5 separate regions of the Homo sapiens genome follow, and regions 1, 2, 3 and 4 are each linked to region 5. Evidence: promoter capture Hi-C in human tissues and cell types (Jung and others, 2019). All regions are on one chromosome and are shown on one strand. Each heading gives the region's core, a stretch centred on a gene start or on the middle of the fragment in contact. The rest is flanking DNA. Distances are from core to core; before and after follow the strand shown. Region 1 holds the start of NR0B2 (nuclear receptor subfamily 0 group B member 2). Region 2 holds the start of FGR (FGR proto-oncogene, Src family tyrosine kinase). Region 3 overlaps FAM76A (family with sequence similarity 76 member A). Region 4 holds the start of FAM76A (family with sequence similarity 76 member A). Region 5 holds the start of TMEM222 (transmembrane protein 222).

Evidence for each region. The method cuts DNA at HindIII sites, captures the fragments that hold promoters and counts their contacts. A contact is called where the count stands out against the background at its distance.
Region 1: the fragment with the promoter of NR0B2 here is called in contact with the fragment with the promoter of TMEM222 in region 5 in 1 of the 25 tissues and cell types used here (aorta).
Region 2: the fragment with the promoter of FGR here is called in contact with the fragment with the promoter of TMEM222 in region 5 in 6 of the 25 tissues and cell types used here (IMR-90 fibroblasts, liver, lymphoblastoid cells and 3 more).
Region 3: a contact is called between a fragment that was not itself captured here and the fragment with the promoter of TMEM222 in region 5, in 3 of the 25 tissues and cell types used here (dorsolateral prefrontal cortex, mesendoderm cells and pancreas).
Region 4: the fragment with the promoter of FAM76A here is called in contact with the fragment with the promoter of TMEM222 in region 5 in 1 of the 25 tissues and cell types used here (IMR-90 fibroblasts).

Annotation. Positions count from the first base shown.
Region 1 is chr1:26,912,610-26,915,487 of GRCh38, reverse strand. It overlaps NR0B2 (nuclear receptor subfamily 0 group B member 2), which reads left to right and starts at 1,513. Exons shown (of 2, transcript NM_021969.3): 1 at 1,513-2,079. The coding sequence starts at 1,548. It also overlaps a transcript of NUDC not described here. RefSeq lists an enhancer at 1-46. The HindIII fragment of the contact is 33,061 bases long and covers 1-2,878 here.
Region 2 is chr1:27,633,887-27,636,586 of GRCh38, reverse strand. It overlaps FGR (FGR proto-oncogene, Src family tyrosine kinase), which reads left to right and starts at 1,402. Exons shown (of 13, transcript NM_005248.3): 1 at 1,402-1,522. RefSeq lists a silencer at 2,277-2,326. The HindIII fragment of the contact is 29,896 bases long and covers 1-2,700 here.
Region 3 is chr1:27,760,602-27,763,301 of GRCh38, reverse strand. It overlaps FAM76A (family with sequence similarity 76 member A), which reads right to left. Exons shown (of 9, transcript NM_152660.3): 9 at 186-2,700. Among named protein-coding and RNA genes, the nearest start is that of STX12, 11 kb to the left of the region's middle. The HindIII fragment of the contact is 6,157 bases long and covers 1-2,700 here.
Region 4 is chr1:27,724,612-27,727,311 of GRCh38, reverse strand. FAM76A (family with sequence similarity 76 member A) reads right to left here and starts at 1,351. Exons shown (of 9, transcript NM_152660.3): 1 at 1,151-1,351. The coding sequence starts at 1,231. RefSeq lists silencers at 827-1,526, 1,365-2,007. The HindIII fragment of the contact is 12,090 bases long and covers 1-2,700 here.
Region 5 is chr1:27,320,853-27,323,552 of GRCh38, reverse strand. TMEM222 (transmembrane protein 222) reads right to left here and starts at 1,390. Exons shown (of 6, transcript NM_032125.3): 1 at 1,162-1,390. The coding sequence starts at 1,355. RefSeq lists enhancers at 335-881, 1,033-1,382, 882-1,429, 1,430-1,976. The HindIII fragment of the contact is 11,672 bases long and covers 1-2,700 here.

The sequences.
Region 1 (2,878 bases), core at 264-2,763, 410 kb after region 5:
GACACAACCAAGGGCCTCTCCACCTTCTCTCATCCCCTGTGCTCCACCATCTGAGAAAGATGCCCGGGACAGAGGAGCCACGTGGCAGCAGAGCAACACTTCTGCCCAGATCACAAGTGGGCAACGTCTGCAAAGCAGGCAGCAGCAAGGTGGGGGCAGCTAGCCACAAGCTCTGAGAATCTCAGGCTCTGGCTGTGCAATTGGGCCAGTGGGTCCAGGGAAACAAACAAGGACTTTGGAGTCAGGCAAGATCTGGGCTTTGTCTTCCTGGTGGGATGACCTTGGGCAAGTCACTTTAGCTTTTTTAGTCTCATAAAGTAAGAATCTAGCCTTAGGAAGAGGCTGCCAATATTAGAGTGGGAAGTGCCTGACACATAATAAGTGCTTAGAGAATGGCAACCATATATATACATATATATATATATATATGTATGTATGTATGTGTATATATATATACACATATACATATAAATATACATATACATATACATATACATATACATATACATATATATTTTTTTGAGACAGGATCTTGCTCTGTTGCCCAGGCTGGAGAGCAGTGGCATGATCTCAGCTCACTGTAACCTCTGCCTCCCAGTTTCGAGTGATTCTTTTGCCTTAGCCTCTAGAGTAGCTGGGACTACAGGCACATGCCACCATGCCCGGCTAATTTTTGTATTTTTAGTAGAGACGGGATTTTGCCATGTTGGCCAGGCTGGTCTTGAACTCCTGACCTCAAATGATCCCCCTTCCTCAGCCTCCCAAAGTGCTGGGATTACAGGCATGAGCCACCGTGCCCGGCTGGCAACTATCTTTTATTATAATTCTGTGAGTTCTTCTCAGCAGACCTGGCCTTTCAGGAGTGGTAGGAATCAGGCTGGGGATAAGGATTCTGAAGGACCTTATTCCTGCAGGGGGCCCAGAACTGGAATCAGAGGAGGAGGCCTCCTAGATTGGACAGTGGGCAAAGTCCTCCCAGCCCCCAGGGTCCTGGCTCCCTTCCCTGTAGCCTGCTTCTGGCTGACAACAGAAGCAGGGCCCCAAGGTTAGGCAAACAAGCTAGTGATAAGGCACTTCCAGGTTGGGCCTTGCATTCAAGGCCCACCCAGCTCTGGGGCTGGCTTCCTGGCTTAGCAAAAGCCCTAGTCTTTTGTGCACACAAGAGCGGGCACCAATGGGGACACCTGCTGATTGTGCACCTGGGGCCTTGGTGCCCTGGTACAGCCTGAGTTAATGACCTTGTTTATCCACTTGAGTCATCTGATAAGGGGCAGCTGAGTGAGCGGCAGGTGGCCCTGTGCCCTGCACCGGCCACTTCATTGACTGAGGTGATATCAGTGCCACGTGGGGTTCCCAATGCCCCCTCCCCCACCACTTCCCCACCATTCCTGCCAGGGGCAATGTCTGTGTGTTTTTTTCAATGAACATGACTTCTGGAGTCAAGGTTGTTGGGCCATTCCCCCCGTTCCACTCACTGGGAATATAAATAGCACCCACAGCGCAGAACACAGAGCCAGAGAGCTGGAAGTGAGAGCAGATCCCTAACCATGAGCACCAGCCAACCAGGGGCCTGCCCATGCCAGGGAGCTGCAAGCCGCCCCGCCATTCTCTACGCACTTCTGAGCTCCAGCCTCAAGGCTGTCCCCCGACCCCGTAGCCGCTGCCTATGTAGGCAGCACCGGCCCGTCCAGCTATGTGCACCTCATCGCACCTGCCGGGAGGCCTTGGATGTTCTGGCCAAGACAGTGGCCTTCCTCAGGAACCTGCCATCCTTCTGGCAGCTGCCTCCCCAGGACCAGCGGCGGCTGCTGCAGGGTTGCTGGGGCCCCCTCTTCCTGCTTGGGTTGGCCCAAGATGCTGTGACCTTTGAGGTGGCTGAGGCCCCGGTGCCCAGCATACTCAAGAAGATTCTGCTGGAGGAGCCCAGCAGCAGTGGAGGCAGTGGCCAACTGCCAGACAGACCCCAGCCCTCCCTGGCTGCGGTGCAGTGGCTTCAATGCTGTCTGGAGTCCTTCTGGAGCCTGGAGCTTAGCCCCAAGGAATATGCCTGCCTGAAAGGGACCATCCTCTTCAACCCCGGTGAGCTCCCAGACACTCCTGGGTGGGGGGCAAGGCTGAAGCAGGGGCCAGCCAGGGAAGGTAGCTTCTAAGGGTTTGATATCTGTTATCTCATTGGGTCCTCATTTTCTTTTTATTTTTCTGAGACAGAGTCTCACTCTGTCACCCAGTCTGGAGTGCAGTGGTGCGATCTTGGCTCACTGCAACCTCTGCCTCCTGGGTTCAAGCAATTTTCTCTGCCTCAGCCTCCCGAGTAGCTGGGATTACAGATGGCCGCCACCACTCCCGGCTAATTTTTGTACTTTTTAGTAGAGATGGGCTTTCACCATGTTGATCAAGCTGGTCTTGAACTCCTAACCCCTCAGGTGATCCACCCACCTTGGCCTCCCAAAGTGCTGGGATTACAGGCGTGAGCCACCGTGCTTGGCCAGTCCTCATTTTCATCAAATAGCCATCTCACAGAAGAGGCACAGAGAAGCTAAGTGACTAGCTAAAGGTAACACAGCCAGGTAGGGACAGACCAGGATGGCAACTCAGGTCTATTCACTCCAGAGACTGGCCCTTGCCACTCTGCCTGAGAAATTTGCTCTGACCTTTACAGAAGGCTGTGGGGAGGTGGGGTGGGCAGACACAGCTGTGTCTCAGTCACATCCTCAAAGGAAGGCTGCATGGTGAAGCTCTAGAGCTAAAACTCCTCTGTGGGTTCAGAAAGATCACATAGAAGAGATGACTGAAAGGGGCGTAGGGAGGACAGGAAAGGAGTCTTTATGGAATTCGGCCAGGAGAGCGGCAGATGGAGACAGTGCTGTTTGTAATCTGG
Region 2 (2,700 bases), core at 153-2,652, 310 kb before region 5:
GCTGAAGTAACAGTGGTGGGAGTGGGGACTGAACCCCAGATTGAGGAGGGGTCAGGGATCCCTATCAGACAGAGAGACTGGAACTGATAGAGGATGCTACCGTTTCTCTTTTTGTTTTTAAAAATCTTTTTCCACATGTTCTAAGATACTCAGTTTTTCTTCCTTTTTTTTTTTTTTTTTTTTTTTCTTGAGACGGAGTCTCGCTCTGTCGCCCAGGCTGGAGTGCAGTGGCGCCATCTCGGCTCACTGCAAGCTCCGCCTCCCGGGTTCACACCATTCTCCTGCCTCAGCCTCCTGAGTAGCTGAGACTACAGGCGCCCGCCACCACGCCCGGCTAATTTTTTGATTTTTAGTAGAGATGGGCTTTCACTGTGTTAGCCAGGACGGTCTTGATCTCCTAACATCGTGATCCACCCGCCTCGGCCTCCCAAAGTGCTGGGATTACAGGCGTGAGCCGCTGCACCCGGCCTTTTCTTTCTTTTTTTTAAAAAAAGTCATTTTCTGCAACAAAACCCACATTCTTTTTTTGTGTTTTTTTTTTTTAAGGCAGGGTCTTGCTCTGTCACCCAAGGTAGAGTGCAGTAGCTCAATCACAGCTCACTGCAGCCTCGACCTGCCTGACTCGAGGGATCCTTCCACCTCTGCCTCTGCAGTAGCTGGGACCACAGGTGCACACCACCACACCGAGCTAACTTAAGAAAAATTTTTTTTGGTAGAGATGGTGTCTCCCTATGCTGCCTAGGCTGGTCTGGAATTCCTGGGCTCAAGCAATCCTCCCACCCAACCTCCCAAAGTGCTGGGATTACAGGCTGAGCCACTGCCCCCAGCCAGTTACTCAGTTTTTCTAAAACTTGGGTGCCTGGGGGAGGCTGACACCCTTCCCACTCCTCTGAAAGGCAGTTTCCTAAGGGAAGGGTCTTCTGCTGCTCACCACCCTTAACAGCCCTGTGTCCCCAGTGCTCAGCCCCTGAGGAAGGGAAGGCGTGCTGACAGGGTCCATGTGATCCATGTCCAGTGGCTCTGGTGACAGCAGTCTGAAGTCAACTGGCTGTGAGAACTCGAGTAAGGCCAGTCCCGATCTGGTCCTCAGTGATGGAGAAAAGCCCCTCTTAACCTCCAATTCAATGATCCTAAAAGAGCAGGTGCTTCGGGGGTGCTGAAACTGCGCTTTTGGAGGGGGCTTTTGGGAAGGCCGGGCTGGGGACTCAGGTCTGGAGGGTGACAGAGCCGACCTCCCGTAAACCAGGGAGGAGGAAGGTGGGGGCGGGTGGGCCTAGGATCTGGGGGCGCCTCCTCGCTGCGGGGAGCTGGCTTGGGGCTAGGGCGTGACTGTCTCCCTGCCACCATCACCGCCCGCCGGCCGTGACTGCAATAAGAGAAGTCCGAGGCGGCTTCCTCCTCCCTGCCCAGCAGGGGCGGCGGTCAGAGGCGGGCAGCACCCCAGTTCTCCCCGCACGCCGGCACTCGCGGCTGCTGGAGCCCCGGCTGGCTCACCCCGGGGCCGGGCAGAATTGGGCTCCAGGTAAGCGACAGCGTCGGGTGGGGACTGGGCAGGTCAAGCAGTGCCCTCCCCCTCGAGGCTCTGGAGAGAGGACTGGGGGTACACGGGAAGAGAAGCCTGAACCTGGGGGTCGGGGGACACATGAGCAAGGTGACAGCCAAAGGGACCCCAGCCCGAAAAGGCCTAAGGAGGAAAACGGGCGACCTGAAAAGCAAGGCTGATAAACCTGGAGGAGAGGGCGGAGGGGAGCACGGGGGAAGCCGACCAAAGGGACCCCCAAAAAGGTCTAGTGGGTAAAATGGAGGGGACTGATAAGAGTTTAGGAAGGGGGCTGAGGTGGGGGAGAAGGATTAAGGGGAATCCCCAGGACGGTCTGGGGGAGAAACTGAAGGGATCGTGAGAGTGGGACTTTGGGGAGAAGCCGACGGGTCTGATGGGTCCAGGAGAGGGGAAATGGGTGGGGGTGCTGGAGGGAACAGGAGAGGGAGCTGGCGGGAAGGGGGTTGAGGAGAACGACTTCTGGAGGACGGAGAACCTGGGGTGCAATTGCGGGTCCAGGAAGTTCCCCTCTTCCGAGCCGGCCGAAGTCGGGGTGAAGCCCACAGCCCGCAGGGTAACGTTAGCGGCCGCGACCGCGGCCCCGCGACCCTCTCGGCCCGCCCTTGCGGTAGGTTCCGGGCTGCAGGGGACTCCTGCCGGGCGCGCGAGGCGTGGGTCCCCGCTTCCTGGGGAAGTCCCCGCCCTCGGCAGGGACAGGCCTCTCCGGGCGCCCCCTCCGCGCCCGCGGCGGTCTCGGCCCGCGCTCCCCGCTGGATCCGGGAATTGCTGCCGCCCCGACGGAAATCCTGCCTTTGACCGCGAGTGCCCGCAGGGGCTGCCTCCAAGGCAACGAGAGGGCGGGCCGCGCTGGGCCGCCGCGGGGCTCCGGGTGGGCGCAGCCCCCTTTGCTCTCCGCCTTCGCCCCCTTTTGGAATCCTCGGTCTGGTGGGTGGGGGGTGGGCTTCCCGACCGAGGTAGGAGGCGATGCCGCTGTGTTCAGGGATCCTGGGGTGGAGGATCTGCTGTTTGAGAGACCTGGGTTCTTAGCAAGACTGGGCCCTTAATTGCTGTGTGACTGTGGGCAAGTTACAGGGCTTCTCTGGGCCTCACTTTCCTCATCTGAACTATGGTGAGAAATGATCCTTGTGTCCACTCTTCCC
Region 3 (2,700 bases), core at 106-2,605, 440 kb before region 5:
TCATAGAAGAGAGAAAGAAAGAGTTTATTCTCTAATGGACAGGAAATTCCCAATTAGCAGTTAGGCTTTTAATTTTTTAAGTCTATAAGCAAGACAAACTTTTCTAGGCTGAAGGGCTGAAGGGGATAACGGGGTATGTCTACTGGTAAACAGCAAGAAATAAAAACAAAATCCAACAATTACACTTGAGTCAATATGAATTTTTATTAACACACATTTGTCAAAGTCTGTACAAACCAAAACATTCCTGTGTTTTAAAATGTCCATTATTACAAACATACAAAGAAACAAAAGGTGTTACCAAAAGTTAGCTACTCAATTTCATGGTAAAACAGTGTCATGATTTTTAAAAATCAAAATTTCAAGACTGAGGTTTCTTCTTTCCCTTTTTGGAACTTATGGAAAGTTAGAAAACGTGTGAATTTGCTTTATATTAAATGCCAAGACCTTAAAAAAAGATTTAGTATAAAACTAAGTATGTTTTTATATTGTCATACATCATGTAACAGAATTTCAGTCCTTAAAATTAAAAAAAAACACCATGACTGTCATTTCCCCCTAATTTTTCTCCCATAGTCAATGCAAATGCATCTGAAAAATATTATGACAGTTTATCTTTACCTAAAAGCTTCTCATTCAAAAACTTTACAAAACTATTTAGCACTGCCATTTCCCTTGCTTAGAAGGGAAAATTATATCCCCTAGTAGGGTGATATATAAGCGACATGGTCCACTGTATCCCTTATCAGAAGGAAACCACCATTTCCACATCTCTGTCCAATTATGTGTAGGACTCCATTTATGAGAATGCTATCACAAATTATAGAGCATCTGCTTCCAGGAAACGCCTAGAAGTTAAATTTAGTACTATAATTTTTTGGTAGACTGAGGTACAAATGTTATCTGCCCTCATTATTATTTCTAACTCTAGTACCCCCTGCATAAATGATTCTAGGGTAGTTGGTTTTGTTGTTTCATGGCACACATGACACACCCTAATTCCTTTCACAAACATCACATAGAGGACCTGAGAGTATGCCTAGAAATGTAAATCTATCCCCTTTCCTGGAAAAGTAAATCCATATTCCTACAGGGTTAAGAAGGGAAGATAGGCAGGGCATACATAACTCTGGTTGAGGCAAAGTGCTTCTGAGAAGCACCTGTTTTCAATACATATCCATGAAAAGCAGGGAGTGTATGGGCTCGGGTGGGTGAGGAGTGGGGAGAAGGTATAGTGATACCACTTTTCCCAGACTCAAGAGTCCTTACTAGAGCAGCTCATGCTGACCCCAAAAATGCTCTGTAGTTCAAATATTATTCCTTTTTTTTTTTTTTTTGAGACGGAGTCTCACTCCATTGCCCAGGCTGCAGTGCAGTGTTGCGATTTCAGCTCATTGCAACCTCTGCCTCCCGGGATTCGAGCAGTTCTCCTGCCTCAGCCTCCTGGGTAGCTGGGATTACAGGTGCATGCCACCAGGCCCGGCTAATTTTTGTATTTTTTTAGTACAGATGGGGTTTTACCATGTTGGCCAGGATGGTCTCAAACTCCTAACCTCAAATGATCCACCCGCCTTGGCCTCCCAAATTGCTGGTATTACAGGCGTGAGCCACCGCACCCGACCATATTATTCCATTTTTAATCTGTTCATTCATGTAAAAAAACATTCTCTGACAGCAGCCCAGTATGACAACTGATATAAGCAAATAAAGGATTTTATTTTTTAAAGAAGTGGCAGTGTGAGAATTTAAAATCAATCACATAAAACAATCAGGAAAGGGGTGGGGAGAGAAGTGTCCAGTACAACCTGGACAACCTTGCTTTCTGCCCTTACTTAAAAAGACAGACGGTTCAAATCTTTGCTACCTCCCTTAAGTATCTCCATAAATGCTCTTCCAAGAAATCCTCCAAAAGGCACTTAGCTCCATACTTATGCATTGAATTGTTTCACCTTAGCAATCAGTTTTTAAGACTCCAAGGTAACAAGAAAGAAAAGATCTGATTCTTTTACTAAAAGCTAGTGAATAGGACTGTTTTTTTTTCAAGAGGCATCACTTTTACAAGAACTAGCTAGACCACCATTATTCCTTTATCAAGAAAAAGTTTCTTTTTTAAAAAATAAATAAAACTCTGGCTATACATAGTACAAAGTTCATACATAATACATCTGGAAAAAAACCGAAGAGTATACCCTGAAGCAAAAGGTTTATTGGAGAGAGAAAGCCTCTTCCATTATACCAAGTCTGAAGATGGCAGTTTTCAAAGTTCAGAGGGTGGCAGTGATATATAATTAATGCCAAACTGTTTGCTCATGGGTATGGCAGGATGCAATGAAGGACCAAAAAAAAAAAAAAAAACAAAAAACAAATCATTCTGCACATTACACTGAGCAGTGACCACCACAAAAAAAAAAAAAAAAAAAAAAAGAAAAAAGAAAAAAAAAGAATAGAACCAAAATAGAGAGAAGAGGAAGAAGAAAAAGAAAAGTCCTAATAGTGAGAGAAAGAGAGCGAGCTTGAAATCCCAAACACTCAAGCATGCAGTCTAACACAGCACAAACCAGGTGTTTCCATTCAGCCCACTGCAATCGCACAAAGAAGGATAACTGTAATAAAATAGAGATTTCTTAAGAAAGCTTGCAATTCCCACAGAACAGCCAGGTCTCCAACCCTAACCCTGGACAACTCCATTTGCTGTTGCTA
Region 4 (2,700 bases), core at 102-2,601, 400 kb before region 5:
CTTCCCTACTGTTGATGTGGGAGTTAAGTAAGAACTTATATGGATTATATGGAACTAGCCATAAATTGTAAAACAAACATATATATGAACAAGTCCCAGACTGGGAATCAGAAGCCCTGAATTCCAGGCCTGGTTCTTCTGCCACTGTGTGATTTTGCGGTTTACTTGTGAAATGAAAGTGCTGGATTAAAATTATTATTTATATATACATAACTTCCTTAAAATCATATATACATATTTTGAGGCCAAAAAGGGCACTCAAGCACTTGCATTCCCCCAGACCTGGTATATAAAAACTGGCAAATGGAAAGTCATGACCATCTGAGGCAAAAGTGACAATTATGAGTTATCCAAATCAGAGACACAAACTGGATTATTGGATAACCTCAACATTATTCTTCAGCCAGTTTGGTGACTTTTTAACTGTTGCCTCACAGCACCTCTAGTCACTTAAAAAGTAAAAGTGGGATAAAGCAACTTAAAAGAAAAAGAGAAGTTGGACCTTCAGGAGCAAAAACTGATCAGCAGCTAGTCAGGGAAGACCGAAGACCACCAACTGGATGCTGAGAAGTGATCCCTCGGATCTGTGAGCCTGACTGTGGGGCTTTTTTAAAACATAAAGCCTTGCTGCCTCCGATTCTGAGACTGGCCGAAAAGTGAGATGCTTAAAAAAAAAAAAAAAATCAAGCCTTGCTACCTCCGATTCTGAAACTGGTCGAAAAGTGCCCGTGAGGAGCCCGAGTTCGACACATTCCTCCAAGGCAGCACCCAACTTTGGAGTTCAGTCCCAGGAGGGGCAGGAGGTCCCCACCAGGGAGACCGCGGCGGCGGGGGAGGCAGCGCAAAGGGATCCCGAAGGCGACCAGTCAGGGCAAGCAGGGGACCCGCTGTCCCTCCCCCGACCTCACGGGGTCCGAGAACAATCCCCACGGTTGCTAAGCACCCGGACACGCCGGCCGCGGGAGCCTGGACCGGGTCCCGGCTCCCGCACGTGCCCCGCCGGCCCCCAGCGGGGTGGGTGCGGCTCCTCAGCCTGGCGGGCCTGCCACACCCTGCTCCGGGGACCCCGCCGGGCGTCCCCACAGAATCTGGAGCTCCGGGCCGCGCCTCCTGCGTCCCCAGTTCCCGGCCGCCGCCCCAGCCCGCGCACCTTGCACAGCTGCTGCCCCTGAGACAGCGCCTCGAAGGGGAAGCGCTGGTGGCACTTGGTGCAGGCGTAGAGCGCCGCCATGTCCGGCCCGGGCCGCGCTCACCGACCCGCCGGCCCGGCCCGCCGATTTATCTGACAGTCTGAGGCACAACCCGGCGGCGGCTGCAGGCTGCTGGCTGCGGCAGGCGGGCGGGCGCAGGCGGGTCGGGGCGGACCCGGGCGGGCTGGGGCGGGCACGGCGACTCTAGACGCCCGCTCACTGGTGGGCTTTGACGTCGATCAAGTGGGAAGGGGCGGAACACGGAGCTTTCGCCCACTCTGATTCGGTCTGGCCTGGAGTACGCCACTGTGACGCTCCAGGCCGCGATTATGTAAAGCGCAGTCACGCGGGGGCGCCACCTGGAGGGGACAGGCTCCCGGCCGGGACCTCGGAAGAGCTTAGGCTCCGCCCTACTTGCTCAGCGTTCCCGCCCTCGCTCCGCCTCTCCACGGCCTCAGGCGCATCTGCGCTTCTCGCGATACCTTCGGGGATTTGTGATGTTTTGGTTTCCATGGAGCTGCCCTCTGGGAGCACGAGGGGTACAATTGGAACGAAGGCGGCGCACAGTTAACTGGAACTCTGCAGCCGTCCAAGCCCAAAGAAGGTGGGGAGCTTGGGAAAGAAGTTCCTCATAATCGGAGCAGGAGGAGCCCGCCCAGCCTCGCTCAAAGGAGGAGACGAGACTCTGAGGGACAATTTAGAAGTGTGTCCTCAATTTAAGACACCTAAATAGGGAACTGTGGGGCTGTGGGCCTTAGGAGAGAAAAGGAGAGCCCCAGAGAGAGCACCCCTATGCTGCGGAAGAGGGACTAAAGAGATGGCAGTCCTTCCAGGAGGGATTGGACAGATATTCAGGCGTCCGGTGGCCTGCAGGCCCCCATCAGAGTGGGCTGCAATTGGCCCAGACCTGCTTCCTACTTTGTTTTCTCCGGTTTCACCCCCAGCTTCTCTCGCAAGCAACCACCTGGTGATTCCTGACGAGGCCTGACTTCCGGAAGGCAAGCCACGCCCTCCGGGCTCCCCTGCCTCTCTTTGGCTCCAGCTTGGCATGTATAGGAGCTGCCCAAGGAATGACAGACTTCTTGTTCTTGAGGTGTTGGCAAAGCTTCCTGCACTGCTGACCTATCCAAGTCCTGCCTTGTAGCTGCTCTTGGGCATAGGTTACTCTTGGCTCTGCCAACCACCCGTACAGGACTAATTGCAGTTTTACCTCAACGTGCGCTTTTTACAATTAAAAACTGACTTAATGGCTTCTATTTCCCTGCCTCAACAAAAAAAATTTACTCTCTCTGAACCCAAATCTGGCTGCTTCCTTGTAGGATCCCCCAAAGATGTGCATTAATCATTAGGATCAGAAAGCAAAGTTTCCAAATCACTGTTCCACAACTAACTACATGACCTTGGATCTATCACTGAACTTCTCACGGCCTCGTTTTTCTCAATTGTACAATGAGGTCATTGTGAGAATCAAAACCAGTACATGAGTCGGGGCGGGATGGCTCACAACTGT
Region 5 (2,700 bases), core at 141-2,640:
CCTCCACTGCCTCCCAGAGTGCTGGGATTACAGGCATGAGCCACCGCGCCTGTCCCAATATTTTATTTTTAAAGAACAGATTTGGATGCTCTTATATGCATAAGTACTTGAAAACACAAAATAATTCAAGTATTTTAACATAATTCAAAAACTACGATCTTTTTAGAATCAGCAACACCTAAGGCCCCAAATGATCCCTTCTCCACATCACCACTGGCTGTTATTGATAGCGGAACAAGCTATCCCATCAGGTGAGAGTGGATAAGATGTAGTGCAAAGAGCAAGTTAGATCAGAAGACTGAGCTCTTCATGCCTTTGCTTATTGGGGTGCGAACCTGATCAAGACACTTAATGCTACAAGCAGCTCAGCTTCACCATCTGAGAAGATAACCTACCTTAGAAAATGGATGTTTAATTCTGATAAAATGGGTGTTTAAGAGCTTGGCAAACTATCCAGCACGGTGAGGAGGGGTTACGTTTATCAGCTGTCAAGGTTGAAGCAGGAGGGCAAACCACCTCTCCCCATATGAGAGCTCCTCCCAAAAGGCGCCAAGTAGTACCAGAGCACCTGCTTCTCCCCTGACAAAGGCTGATGTTACAGAAAGAACTTTGGTCTGGGAGGCAGACAACCTGGGATCTAAACCCAGTTTGCAACTGAGATGGCACGTGAGACAAAGGGTTGGACTCTCAGATCTCTGGGGGCCCTTCCAATGTTGACATCCCAGGATCTCGTGTGGTCCCAACCAAACTCCCACTCTTGCTCCCAGACCCAGCAGTATGTCTGGAATATGGTAAGCGACCAGTAAGCATTTGCTCAATGAGAGAATAAACCAGTGAATTAATAAAAATGTCTCCTCAGATCCGATAAGGGGCTCCCTCTTCTACACACTCACAGCTCGAGTCTCCCAGCCACTTGCCCTTTCCTGCTGGCCTACAACTCTCTCCCTGGCTACACCAGGTGTATTGAGAGCAGGGAGCGTGTCCCAGCCGTGTGCACAAACTGGCACTACATGGATGGCGGGGTTCTGGTGACTGGGCGAGGCGTGCGGGCCAGACCCGAGGAAAAGGCTTGCTGCGCGTTGGGGCCGGAGGCTAGCCCGGCCCGACTCCGGCTCTCCCTGGGCCCTCCTCGTCCCCAGGCGGATGCCGGAAGAGACTCACGTGAGCACCGGGATGGGCGTCCACACCACGCAGTAGGGGAAGCGACTCCGTTCCACATCCATGGCGACGCCGCCGGAGCCTTGATATTGCTTCATGTCCGTCTCGGCCGCCGTCGGCGCCTCCACTTCCGCCATCCTGGGCGGGGGTGGCGGCGGCGGCAACAAGAGCAGAGAACTCCCTTCCGCTTCCGCCATGCGGCGCGCGCCCCGCTCCGACTGGCCCCGGCTCTGGTGCCGCTCGTCCCCATGGCGTCACTTCCCGGAGATGGGGTCCGCCCCGCTTGGCCTTCCCCCGGGAATCCGAGCCGCGTTCCTCTGGGCCCGGCCAGCCCCGCCCCACTCCCTATGCGCCTGCCAGCCCCGAGTCTTTGCCGCTTATGCCCCGCGGCTGCAGAAGGGATGCTCTCAGGCAGTTCGCAGTCTAGCGCCGGAGACTTATAGAGAACTCTAATTCAGTACGCTGAGGGCTCCTAGGAGGTGTGGTACAGTCGCTATTTATTGAGCACTTCTTAGGTGCCAAGCACTTGACATGAATTGTTTCTAATCCCCATAAACTAATTAGACATCCAAATTAGGTATTCCCTCCTGTTACAGGTGAGAAACTGAGGTTCAAAAGGTGAGAGACCACGATGCAAACCCAAGTCTTTTTTTTTTTTTTTTTTTCTGAGGCGGAATTTTTTCTCTTGTTGCCCAGGCTGGAGGGCAATGGCACAATCTCGGCTCACTGCAACCTCCACCTCCCAGGTTCAGGCGATCCTGCCTCGGCCTCCCGAGTAGCTGGGATAACAGGCGCGTGCCACCACGCCCGGCTAATTTTTGTATTTTTAGTAGAGGTGGCGTTTCACCATGTTAGCCAGGATGGTCTCAAACTCCTGACCCTGTGATCCGCCCGCCTTGGCCTCCCAAAGTGCTGGGATTACAGGCGTGAGCCACCGCGCCTGGCCCAAACCCAAGTCTTATACCTCCCTTGCCCTTTTCATTCTGTGGCCCTCTCACGAGGTAGTGGTAGCATAAAGGAAGACACACACAGTTGTGTGTGCGCACGTGTGTGTGTGTGTGTGTTTTATTGTATATACAGGGAAGACTTGCTGGAAGATAGGATATTATTGAGTTGAGTCTTGATGTTTGCCATGTGGCACAGGAGTGGAAGTATGAGTGCAGCGGTACAAAGAAAGGAAGGCCGTGCAGAGCAGTGTGTGCAAGAGTGTGAATACTTACTGGAGTAAATCATAAGCCTTAGATGTGATCCAATCCCTTCATTGTACAAATGGGAAAACGGGCTCAGGGAAGTTAATTGTTTGAGATCACACACAACCATAATTAGAGAGAAGCCAGGCTCAAATGTTGGAGACTTTTGGCTTTTTAAAGGATGTCAAGACAAAGAAAATGAAGTCTACTGGGGTCTACTGGGGTGGGGAGGGGAAGTTGGGGACAGCCCAAAGTCAGAAGGAAGGCTGCCACTAAAAATCAGCCTTAAAGAAAAAAAAAAAAGAATAAAAAGAGTAATCAGGTAAAGGAAGGTATGGACAAATGCACTCAG